Regions from separate parts of the Homo sapiens genome. Here region 2 is linked to region 1. Evidence: promoter capture Hi-C in human tissues and cell types (Jung and others, 2019). All regions are on one chromosome and are shown on one strand. The core of a region is centred on a gene start or on the middle of the fragment in contact, and the rest is flanking DNA. Distances in the headings are between cores, read along the strand shown. Region 1 holds the start of EHF (ETS homologous factor). Region 2 overlaps LOC102723568 (a long non-coding RNA gene).

Region 1 (7,107 bases), core at 1-2,500:
CCCTGTTACCAAGGTGAGTGCAGATAACCAGCAGAGACACCTGTGAACTTGAACCCAGAAGCATACACTCTCCATCTTAAAAACACACACTCCCACCATCCTGGGAGCATGGTAAATCAGCAAAGATGGACGGTGAAAATGTCGCTTTCTCACCTCAGCCTGATATTTACCAACAAGAAGTTAATTTCCCACTGTTCCCAGATCAGTCCACATTGGGGCTAACACTTCTCCACAATGTCCAAGCAAAATCAAAAGAATCCCTGTCTCAGAAGGCATTTGTTGCTGCTGAGTCACAACTGCCTGTCTGATCATAGTCTCCCAAAATGGAGTAAACAAAGGGTTAGTTTGTCCCCTTGTTACACAGTGAAGCCCTTTGCCAAAACTGATTGTTGTATTTTCTGGACAAAATGGAGTAAACAAAGGGTTAGTTTGTAAACAAAGGGTTAGCTTGTCCCCTTGTTATACAGTGAAGCCCTTTGCCAAAATTGATTTTTGTTTTTTCTGAATTTTTGTTTTTGTAGATATTCAGCTCTCCCCAATACCTCTGCCTGCCTTGGCTGCCTGGCCACTTTTTCCAGTGTGATTGTGTATGTTCTTGCCTATTTCTAGCCATTTTCCAGTCCTGGAACATATTAAAAACAAATTGGCCTTTCCATGTAGCTCATAAGTCAGAAAAATTACCAGCAGAAGACATCTCTAGAAAGCGAGACCGTGTACTCTGAGCCCTAACAGCTACTTAGCCAACCACTTCTTCTCTGAGCTATATCAGAGCCACCTATCTCTAGCTGCCTATTTGTTCCAGAAGAATTCAACCCAGGGGAATGGTTTTGCCACCCAGGCATAGGGAAACGAGGGGGCTTTTAAATTCACAGAGATTAGAAGTCCAGACAATGCAGGAAATTCACAGATAATATCCAAAGTAGCCAACCTGCCCTCCAAAATAAAATTCTGATTTGACCCAGTGAGGTAAGCCCAGGTAAGGTGAGCTTCACTTCCTGCCAGCCGTCTCCAAGAGTCTGTTCTAGTTTCATCTGTCCAGTTTAAAGCAGGCTTCTCTTTCCACTCAAGTGTTTGGATTCCAGATTCAAAAGAAGTTTTAAAAATCAGGACTTACCTCATTTACCTAAAGATTCTGGGTGGGAAATCCAATAGCTGTGGCTGTTGGAGGGGAGGCAGCAGGCTGCAATCTCACCAGCTCCTATAGGGATGGGGCACCACGGGTGTTATCAAGTCTGAGCCCTCATCAGAGTGAAGATAAATGCATATAACAATAATTTTAAATCATTTTGTAGGATGTTAAGCAATAAGCCACCAACCGGGAATTCCCTAAGTCACTTCCCCCTCTTCTGATTGGCTACCCAGCCCTTTAAAAAAATAAAATAAAGGATTACAAACACTGGCTCATTTGCATTTGGCCAACTCACACGTTAGTGTTCAAACAAAACAGGTCTAACCAGGTAATGCCTGTGTCTCAAGAACAGAGAGACAACCTGTTAATGGATGAGGAATTGATTTGGTGGTGACTGTTCTTTTCAGCTCAGAGGCTGTTTCAGGTGAAAAGCACCCTGCTCACCAAAGACACCATCGGGAAGAGGGAATGTAAAAGCAAAGTGAGTAGAAGTCCAAATCTGGAGGAGATGATGGTATGGAGGGGCCCTCTTGAGCACCTGTCTCATTTATTAGTCTGTATTTAGTCCACCCTGCTTTGGCATCAAGATCTTTTCCCTAGCTCTATAAGTACCAGGCTCTGAAGGGGCTCCCAGCAAGTTCCCTCTCCAGGCACCATGACTGCCTTCTTGACAGAGACTCTTGGCAATTCAATGGACTTTGAAAAGCCTATCTCCCCTGGCCCCAGGTAAGAGCCTTGAGAGGTTTGAAAGGGAAGGTCCTGGGAGGGAGGGTACCTTATGAGGAGATGCTTAGGTCAAGCAGTCAACTCTCAAATATGCAAGAGCTGATTATCCGGTTGGTGGATTATCTAGGTTCTTCACTTCCTCTTGACACTTACATGATCTTTTTTAAAAGGTTTATTGACACTCCCTATAAGAGTTAGAGATGAGAAGACCAAAATGCTGAAACTGGAAATAAAAAAGCACAGTTTGGACAAGAAGAAGGTGGAATATTAGGGAGGATCTACGGATTCAAATACCCAGGCAACCTCTATTCCCTTGGGCCAAGGGACATATGGGGAGTTACCTGTACCTGCTTCACTGGGTCACAAATGTACCTTCTCCCATACGGGTGAATGACTGCTCCTAGCAAAGAAAAATACCATCCCCCAACCATTAACTTTCTCTGTTGAACCTTCCAGGACACTGGCCTGGCATGAGCAAAGTGTCTAAGCAGATTTCTTTGACTCAACGGGCCTCCCTTTTGTGGGAGAGGGAAGGGAAGTTGAGATTTGGCAGAGATAAAGATTTTGTGATCAAAACCAAGAAGTTACTTGTGTTAAAAAGAAAAAAAAAGGTCTGCTTATGGTCAAAGGCTGACTGAATAGAATAAAAACTGGTTATTATATTAAGGGGGAACAGTGAGTGTGCAGTAGTATTAGTCTTTTCTTACTTATTTTTTCTAGTTTCTACACAAATTCAGAGGTTTCTGAAAGTGTAAAAGACTCAGTGGGAAAACAAGGGTGGACTTGGGAAGGTCTTGGAAGCTGGGCAGGTCTTGAAGAAGGGCTTGAGGCTTTGGTCAGTGCAGTTTAGGGGAGTTCTAATAAATCCCTCTGCCTCCCTAACCTGCCCCAGACATTCCCACCCTTCCCAACTGTTCAACCCTGTGAACTTGCCAAGGGCCCTGTGAAAATGCAAATGTAAACCCCGCCCCATATACACACTGATAAAAACAACAAATTTCATTATTTCCCATTATCACATTAGCCCCAATTAGTCTATCAGTTCCAGATCTGAGAGCAGGGCCCTGAGGGAATGGCCTGCTGGAGTTTTGCTTGAGAGACAAATCAGGCACAACCTGAAGTAACTACATTCCACCCACTGCAGGGCATTTGTGTGTAGTGATGGTGAAGGGGGGTGGGTGGCGGGGCACTCATGAGAAAAGGGAAGCATTATTGCTAGAGCCCGTGGGACTCCAGGGAAACAAACTTGGCCTTCTTTACACCATTGCCTGAGATTAACCTGAGACAGCAGGGTGGGAGTAGAAGGGCTAGGGTTGTGTGGTCAAGAGATAGTGAACTTCAAATGCAACCACAAAAGTGATGTGGCTCTCTGACCCAGTCCCAATCACCTTTAATTATAGGCCCTGTAATTTATAGCTGAAGAATTCTGGTTAAATCTCCATTTCTTTATCCACTTGTATTTAGTCCATTTTAGATTGGAGGGCTATTGAGACGAGTCATATTGGGGTAGTGATGGTGGGAGGGGAGGGAAAGATGTCACCTCATACTCACAAGCCACTTTATTTGTGGAGGTTTTTTTGTAAATAAAGTACCTAAAAGTGTGCCTGCTACTTGCTGGGTACTTATTAAGTATTGATTCTTCTTTTTACTTGGGTCTTAGTTGAACCTTCCAGAAGAAAAACAAAAATGAAAACAATACCCCTCACCCCCAACCTAAAAAAAAAAACACAAAAAAGCTAGAATTGCAGGTATATTGCATCCATACGGAAAGTCCTTTGGAGTTTGAGGTCTTTCACCCTACTGCCAACTTCAACAAGACAGTACTGGCGATAGATAGATAGATGATAGATAGATAGATAGATAGATAGATAGATAGATAGATAGATAGATAGATGATAGATAGATAATGATGGGATGAGATGGATGTCTCAAGGCCTTCTACTACAAGTCTCAGATATATCAAGTATGTCCTTTATGGATAAGAAGTTTAAAGTGTAATCACAAAATCATCAAACACAGCAGATCCTTAATATGGACACATTGTAAGTTCTCAAGGAGGACTCTGGCAAGAGAGACCTCCAGCACTTGTTCTGTGCTCCTGAATTCTCTGGGGGGCTGATAAAGACATAGCAAAATGAACAGAGTGATAAACAAAGCTGATTGTCTTTATTCTGTGGATGGGAAGAATCAAGAGAGAGAGGCCAAGCAGCTTGCCCTCAAATCAACTGAAACAAACTCTAGAAACCCAATTACTCTGCATAGAAATCTTCCTGGTTGTCCCTACAGGTCAAGGCCCTATCACCCTCTCCAACCTGTGCACAGACACAGAGCCCTTGAGTTGAGTCCTGTGCTGGTCCCCACAGAGGAAAAGGGGAACAGAGCAAAGCAAACCAGGTTGTGTGTGGTGGCCTGGAGACCCGGAGGTCAGTCGGGTTGTCTCCTAGAAGATCCATACTGTAAAACCAAAAACCCTAGGGATCTTAATTCCCAAATCAAGGCCAGGACAAAGAATCTCTTTAAGCCAAGTATCAAGCATTAAGGAATCTGAGTCTTAACACCAACACAGGCTGTGGCTACAAGATTAATGGAAGCTGTGTGCTTGCTTTGCAAGAAAGAGGATGCTCACACACTTTACACAATACCTTTTAACTAGAGGGCCTATATTTATTTTTGAAAGCAAGTGTGTGTTTGTATATATTTCTGTCTATCATCTCCTCCTAATGACGTGGTGTTACCTCCAGGGCAGAACACGGCATCTATTTAGTGAAAGCCGTACAAGAATATTAATGTAAGACCAATGGGAAGAAGAAACTCCTTCTGGTCTTGTGAAACTTATGGGGAGGGGGAATTAAATCGAGCAGAATATGATCATTTATTATACTGGTTACAGTCAAATAAGCAACAGAATTAATAAGTATCATTTTGCTTCTTAATGCTACTCCCCTCTAAAGGTCACATTTCCCAAATCTTTTGGTTTTGGATTAGATGAGGTTCCTGGGGATCTTCATTATCCTCTAAGGACAAGCTTTACGGTCTCTGAAGGGGGCACCTGAGTTCTGTTTGGGAGGTCACACGTTGACAGTTGTTCTAACAGGTTGATGTGACACACACCAGCAATGCCTCCTGACATTATGTCTGTGTGCCTGCATTCTGAGCAAATCCTGGCCCAATGGCATGTGCCACTGGCGTGCCAAGGTGGGGGCCACTTTGGTGCTGGAGGAGGGGAGAGTGGCTCACTCTTCCTGAGAAGAATGACCCACTGTGTACACACACACGTGCATGCCCACACACATACACACACAAAACTCAGGCATCTGAACATGTTGCTAAACTTACCCAAGCACCAAGGATGAATTTTCTGGACTCCTCCTCCATATTTTAATTAATATCAAGACGCCTCTATTCTTGCCTAAACTAATTTGCCCCTGCCCTGTTCCTTTGGTCTCGCCTGTATTTTATCAATCTCTTTCTGGCCTTATCTTTCCCCACAAATAGCTTTACACTGTTCCCTGACTTCAAGCCAACCTCACTGCTACGATAAGCATTTTGGTTCTTGAATCCAACTGTCTTAGTTTCTTCACAGTATTTCCATCAGGGTCTTCAAGAAGGCTCATTTCTCAGTCTCAGAAAGGGAGGGAAAATCATGAAAAAGGTGGCCATTTTCAGGCAACCTTCCTGTGGCCAGAATTTCTTCTTTTTTGTATGAGGAAGATTTCTTTATAAGTATAGCACTTAGGATTTTTTTTTGTTTTTCCAGGTATTATTCTTTTTATATTGACAAATAAAATTTGTATATATTTATGGAATAAAACATGACATTCTGACATGTCATATATATGTGTGTGTGTATATATACATAAACATATATATATATATATATACACACACACACACACACACATTGTGGAGTGGCTAAATTGAGCTAATTAACATGGGCATTACCTCACATACTTGCCATTTTTGTGTGTGGTGAAAACACAATCTACTCTCTTAGCAATTTGCAAATACATGATACATTGTTATTGACTATATTCACCATGCTGTACAATTAGATAGCAATTGTTTTAACATAAGAACTCTTTGTTTACTACCATGGAATCCCAAAAGTAAAAGAGATTAAAGAAATGCAGCCATATATGGACCGGAGGTAGGGCAGCTACAGCCCCACCCCCTTGTTTTCCCTTCCCTACCCTCATAGGCATCCAGCCTTCTCTGCTATATAGTTCTCCCTGCTGTGTCCTTTCTAAGCTAATGAAGCATCCAAATTACCTTTACAAATTCAGACTCCTGAGTTCCTCCACACATCTACCAAATCAGCAAACACCTCCAAGGGTGAGGTGATAGTGGAGAAAACCATCCATTTTGCATTCCTCATTTTCCATTCATATTTAGTAGGCTCCCACATTGTTCCACAGATGATCAACCAGAGAACTCACTCAAGAAGATATTTTGGTAGAGCCAACCTTGGGTAAAGGTCTCAGGGCCTGGCCTCTTTCACCCAGGAACCATGAGAGACAGCAAACTCAGGTCCAAGTAGAAAATGTATAAAATCTCCATCCAGATGCCTAATTATTTGGGATAACGTGTGGCATCTCAGAGCCTATTCCAACAGACTTACAAAAGCAAGGTGGCTCTGCTCCTCAGAAGCAGCCTGATGCGGTGAAAGGACATTGTTTTTAAAGCCAGACAGCCTAGGAAAACTTTGCCATATTTGCTCAAACTTTAGGTCTCAGTTTCCCTATCTGTTTATTGGGGATATTAACATACTCAGTGAGCTGTTTGGGGGGTTAAATGAGAAATAGTACAAAGCATTAGGAGATTGCATGGCACTTGGTGGGCTCTCTGGAAATGCTTATTTACTCCCTCCACTAAGTGTAGAGCTTGAACTCCAATACTTCCACCTTAGCAGGGAATGAAGTTTCATATGAGTGGCCAGAGAACTAACCCTCCATGTTTCTAAGAAAAAGTAGAAGAGGCCAGGCACAGTGGTGCGGCATCCTGTTATCCCAGCACTTTGGGAGGCTGAGGTGGGTGGATCACCTGAGGTCAGAAGTTCAAGACCAGCCTGGCCAACATGGTGAAACCCCATCTCTACTAAAAATACAAAAATTAGCCAGGCATGGTGGTGGGCACCTGTAATCCCAGGTACTCGAGAGGCTGAGGCAGGAGAATCGCTTGAACCTGGGAGGTGGAGGTTGCAGCGAGCCAAGATCATGCCATTGTACTCCAGTCTGGGCAACAAGAGCGAAACT
Region 2 (6,253 bases), core at 2,096-4,595, 89 kb before region 1:
TTGAGTGCCTGCAACTTTTCCAGGCTCACGGTGCAAGCTGTTTGCAAGTGGATCTACCATTCTGGGTTCTGGAGGATGGTAGTCTTCTTCTCACAGCTCCACTAGGCAGTGCCCCAGTGGGGATTATGTATGGGGGCTCCAACCTCACATTTGCCCTCCTCACTGTTCTAATAGAGGTTCTCCATTTGGGCTCTGCCCCTGCAGCAGAATTCTGCCTGGACATCTAGGTGTTTCCATACATCCTCTGAAATTAAGGCAGAGGTCTCAAGTCTCCACTGTTGCCCTCTGTGCACCCACAGGCCCAACACCATGTGGAAGCTGCCAAAGCTTGGAGTTTACACACTCTGAAGCAAGGGTCTGAGCTGTACCTTAGCTCCTTTTAGCCATGACTGGAGCTGGAGCAGCTGAGACAAAAGGAGCCATGTTCTGAGGTTGCACAGAGCAGCAGGGCCCCAGGAACAGCCCATGAAACTATTTTTCCCTCCTACACCTCCAGGTCTGTGATGGGAGGGCCTGCTGTGAAGGTCTCTGAAATGCCCTAGAGGCATTTTCCCCATTGTCCTGGCTATTAATATTTGGCTCCTCCTCTTTACTTATGCAAATTTATGTAGCTGGCTTGAATTTCTCCACAGAAAATGGGATTTTCTTTTCTACCGCATAGTCAGGCTGCACGTTTTCCAAACTTTTATGCTCTGCTTCACTTTTAAATATAAGTTCCAATTTAAGAGCATCTCTTTGTGAATGCATATAAGCATATGTTGTTAGAAGCAGCCAGGTCACATTATTGAACTCTTTGCTGCTTAGAAATTTTTTCTGCTAGATACCCTAAATCGTCTCTCTCAAGTTCAAAGTTCCACAGATCCCTAGAGCAGTGGCACAATGCTGCCCATCTCTTTGCTAAAGCATAGCATGAACGACCTTTACTTTATTTCCCAGGAAGTTTCTCATTTCCATCTGAGACCTCATCAGCCTGGACTTCAATATCCATATCACTATTAGCATTTTGGTCAAAACCATTCAACAAATCTCTAGGAAGTTCCAAACTTTCCCTCATCTTCCTGTCTTCTTCTCAGCCCTCCGAACTGTTCCAATCTCTGTCTGTTACCCAGTTCCAAAGTCATTTCCATATTTTCAGGTATCTTTATAGCAATGCCCCACTACTCAATATCAGTTTTCTATATTAGTCCATTATCACACTGCTATAAAGACATACCAGAGCTTGGGTAATTTATGAAGAAAATAAGTTTAATTGACCCATGATCCACAAGTTGTACAGGAAGCATGGCTGGAGAAGCCTTAAGAAACTTACAATCATAGCAAAAGGTGAAAGGGAAGCAAGCATGTCTTACATGGTGGGCAGGAAAGAGAGAGAGAGAGAAGGGGGAAGTCCCACACACTTTTCAAACAACCAGATCTCATGAGAACTCTATCACAAGAACAGCAAGGGGTAAGTTCACCCCCACAATTAAATCACCTCCCACTCGGCCCCTCCTTCAACACTGACAACCACAGCTTGACATGAGATTTGGGTGGGGACACAAAGCCAAACCATATCAACACTCTCTTGACTATTCCTGAATACTAGGATTCACATGCATAGAGTTAAACTTCTTGAGTTGGGTCAAAGAGTAAGTAAGAATCTATGAGAAGAATGGTTCCCAGAGCTTACATATACAGAGGAAGGGTTCCACCTTCAAACAGAGTAGAGAATTCTCACTGATCACTTTTTACATTCAGTAAAGATCCCCAAAAACTTATTAATGAAGCTACAACTTATTTGAAATTAAATGATTCTTAAAATAAAGGCTATGCTAGATCCACCTTAATAAGCTTAAAAACAAAGCTGAAAAAGATAACACTGAATCACAAGAAACCTAACTCCCTATCAGAAGAAAACCTTACTCATTAAAGTAAAGAAAAACAACAAAATCCAGATATTGGACAACACATAAATCATATTATCCAGTAAAAATGTCTTAGACATTGCAAGCAGGAAAATGTGATCCATAACCAAGAGAAAAATCAGTTAACAGAAACAGACCATAAATGACAAAAATGATATAATTAGCAGAAAAGAACATTAAAACCACTATTTTAACTATGTTCGGATATTTAAAGGAAAACATAAAATAGTGAAAGAGGAATGTAAAATATTTTTTAAATCAAATAAAAATTTTAGAAATAAAAACAATATCTGAAATAGAAAATTCATTGGATAAGATTAACAGCAGATTAGACACTTCATAAGAAAATATTAGTGAGCTAGAAGATGGAACAATAGAAACTCTTCACAGTGAATCTTACAGAGAGTAAATATTGAAAAGAAATAAAGTCTCGGTAACATGTGGGACAATATTAAGTGGTCTAATATTTAAGTAATTGGAGTCCTATAAAGAGAAGAAACGGTAAATTTTTTTTCAAGAAATATGGCCAAAATATTTACAAATGCAATAAATCTCAGATCCAAATACTTCAATGAAACCCAGAAAGACAAGCACAAACAATACAAGACAAAGACATGTGGTACTCAAATTGCTGAACACTAAAGATGATCTGAAAAATCTTTAAAATATGTATACATACTATATGCAAAGAAACAAAGATCAGAGTGATAGTAACCTTTTTGTTAGAATCTAGGCAAGTGAGAAGAGAAAATAGCATTTTTAAACTCTGAAAAACTTTTGATAACCTAAAATTCTAAGCCCAGCAAAAACATCTGTCACATATGGAGATAAAGTAAATATATTTCAGTCAAAGCACAGCTGGTAAGACTTACCACCATTACATCTTCATTATAAGAATTGATATAGAAGTTCTTTGAGAGGAAGAACACTAATACAATAAATAAATTTGGATATAAATTAAGAAATAAAGAGAACTGAAAATATTAAACATGTAAGGCAATAAAATACTTATACTCTATTTTTTTATTTTGTTAAAAAACAGCTGTCTGTTTAATGCCAAGGTAATATCAATGTGTTGTGGATTTTACAACAAACAAAAATAAATTCTATGACAATAACAAAGAACAGTAGGAAAGAATTTGCAGATTATTATTGCACATTTTACATTAAGCACTGAAAGTATAAATAAAAGTTAAAACAGGAATAAATAGTAAGATAAAACTAAAGACAAATTTAAATAAAAAAATTAATTAAAAGAAGATAGGACATGAGAAAAAGAAAAGAGCAACAATGAATACATGGCATGAATGTAAAACAAATCATAAGATAATAGACCTAACAACTATCAAATTAATAATTGCATTAAATGTAGGTGGTCTAAACACTGCATTTAAAAGGCAGAGATTTTCAGAATGAATAAGAAAGTAAGAAAAAACTATGTATGTACATATACATGTATATATTTTTTCCTATGGCACTAAGTTTTGTTAAAGATTTCATTCAAGTTAAATTTCTAGGAATTAAGGAGTCCTAGGTAGAGGGCACAAAAGCTTATGAAGCCCTTAGATCTCATAGTGAAACACTAGCTCAGGTTCTTTGGTGGATCACTGTCTTGTCCCAAGTACAGATTATTAAAAGGATACTGCTTTGGCCCCACAGGCTGGTAGGTAGAATAATTCTCCACTACATAGAACATAAAGTTCATGAAGGTCAGGAAGCTGAAGAGATTATTGAACATGATATTCCAAGAAACAGGGGTGGAGGGCCATATCCACATGGTTCCTGATATACTTGTCCAGATGCCAGTGTATCAGTTCACCCCAGTTCAACCTCAAGTCTTGGTGGTCCCAGTCAAACCACAGATCCCTCTCCTACTGTGAATGGTCAAAGAACTTTGAGTAGTTACCATACTCCATGCCATCATCCAAGTAAGGCTGATAGTCTTCCACACACATATTATACTTCTTGGCAGCGGTGGCCCATTCTTCTGGGGTCTTGGAATAGAACCCCAGGGGCATGTCCTTGATCATGTGGAAGGATGGCCATGCACTCAATGACACCACATTCTGGGTTGCCCTTTGTAGCCACTAGATTCCCAGGACCCCTGCCCTGGCTACTTCCAACTTCACCCAAAATTATATTAGGTCTAAAAGTAACCTAGGTCAAATAAAAAAACACAGGGCTAGTCACGGTGGCTCACGTCCGTAATCCCAGCACTTTGGGAGGCCAAGGCAGGCATATCACCTGAGGTCAGGAGTTTGAGACCAATCTGGCCAACATGGTGAAACCACATCTCTACTAAAAATACAAAAATTAGCCAGGCATGGTGGTGTATGCTTGTAATCCCAGCTACTCGGGAGGCTCAGTCAGGAGAATCACTTGAACCCAGGAGTCAGAGGTTGCAGTGAGCCAAGATCGTGCCATTATACTCCAGCCTGGGCAACAAGAGTGAGAATCTGTCCAAAAAAAAAAAAGGCAGGTAAATTAAAATAAAAGGATAAAAAAATACATCATGAAACATTAGTCAAAGATGTCCAGAATGACTATATTATAATCAAACAAAGCAGACTTTAAAATAAGGAATATTACCAGAAACAAGAAGAGACATTTCATAGTGATAAAAGGGTCAATTTATCAAGAATAAAAATCTTAATTTTAGTGAATACATCTAATAAAAGTTTCAAATACAGGATGCAAAACCTATATTTGAAACTAAAAATAAAAGAAATTGACAAATCAACAAATATAGCTGGAAACACTAGCATTACTCTCACAATAATTGATAACAAAAATAGATATATCAGTAAAGATATAGATGACTTTTAAAAGGCTATTAACCAAACCTGTCCTAATTGACATTTATAGAACTACACACAACAGCAGAATATGTATTCTTTTCCATTGTTCATAAAACATTCACCAGGACAAACCATATTTTGAGATAGAAATCTGTTTCAATGAATTCACAAGCATTGAAATCATATGGAGTTGTTCTTTCAACAAGATGGAATGAAATTAGAAATTGATAACAAAGACATCTGCATAATGCCAACTTTGGAAACTGAACAGCATATGTAAATTAAACAATACATTTCTAAGCAATTAATGGGTCAAGTAAAAAATCATAAAGGCAGTTAGAAAACATTTTAACTGCATAAAAATGAAAACAAAATATGAAGACTTTAAAGCTGCAGCTAAAGTAGTAATAATAAGAAAATTTATATTATTAAATGTATACCTTAAAAGAAGAAAAATGTGAGATAGTTTATCTAAGCTTCTACCTTAGTAAGCTAGAGAAATAAAAGCAAACTAAACCCAAAATAACAAGAAAGAAGAAAATAATAAAAATAAGACAGAATTCAATGAGAAAAAATAGACAAACTATAGGGAAAATTGATTAAAACAAAGCTGTTCTTTGAAAAGAGTATTGAAGTTGACATATCTAGACTGATCAAGAACAAAGACAAAAGGTACAGATTATCAAGAAAATGAGCGGGCAAAGCAAGATGGCCAAACAGAAGCCTGCAACAATTATCCCCCCACCAAAGGAACACTAAATTTTAACAACTAACTACACACAAAAAAGCACTATCACAAAAAACAAAAATCAGGTGAGCAATCACAGTACCTGATTTTAACTTCATATTGCTGAAAGAGACATTGAAGAGGGTAGGAAAGACAGTCTTGAATTGCCTATGCCACTTCTCCTCCACTCCCTGGCAGTGGCCACATGGCATAGAGAAACAATCTGTGCACTTGAGGCAGGGCAAGCACAGTGACTAGGGGTCTTGGCATTGAACTCAGTGCTGCCCTGTCACAGCAGGGAGCAAAACCTTGCTTGGTTCAGCTGGCACCCACTCACAGAAGGAGCATGTGGACCAGCCCCAGCCAGAGGGAAATTGCCCATCCCAGTGGTTGGAACTTGAGTTTCAGCAAAACTTGCCACTGCAGGCTAAAGTGCTCTTGGGTTCTAGGTAAACTTGAAATGCAGTCTAGGACACAAGTACCGCAATTTCTAGGCGAGGCCTAGTGCTAAGGCTGGACTTACAGCCAGTAGACTAAGGCAGCACGTGACCTAGGAAGACACCAGCTGGGGCAGCTAAGGGTGTTGCTTGTGCCACCACTTGTGAAACCCAAGCTTGTGAAACCCAAGCAGTGCAGCTTGTAGCAATGATAGTAACTCCTTCCTTCTGCTTGAGGAGAGGAGAGTGAAGAGTAAAGTGGTATTTGTCTTGTGTCTTTGATACTAGCTCATCCACAATAGGATAGTGCACCAGGCAGAGTTGTCAGGCCCCTATTCCAGGCCCTAGTTCACAGACATTTCTAGACACAACCTGGGCCAGCAGGAA

Evidence for each region. Contacts are between HindIII fragments. The study calls those that stand out against the background at their distance.
Region 2: a fragment that was not itself captured here is called in contact with the fragment with the promoter of EHF in region 1 in 4 of the 25 tissues and cell types used here (adrenal gland, lymphoblastoid cells, mesenchymal stem cells and 1 more).

The regions. Positions count from the first base shown.
Region 1 is chr11:34,615,236-34,622,342 of GRCh38, reverse strand. EHF (ETS homologous factor) reads right to left here and starts at 1,250. Exons shown (of 9, transcript NM_012153.6): 1 at 1,115-1,250. RefSeq lists a cis regulatory region at 2,950-3,349. The HindIII fragment of the contact is 9,385 bases long and covers 1-6,184 here.
Region 2 is chr11:34,707,378-34,713,630 of GRCh38, reverse strand. All of the region lies in intron 1 of LOC102723568 (a long non-coding RNA gene), which reads right to left. It also overlaps the pseudogene NDUFB8P3. Among named protein-coding and RNA genes, the nearest start is that of EHF, 89 kb to the right of the region's middle. The HindIII fragment of the contact is 4,531 bases long and covers 1,080-5,610 here.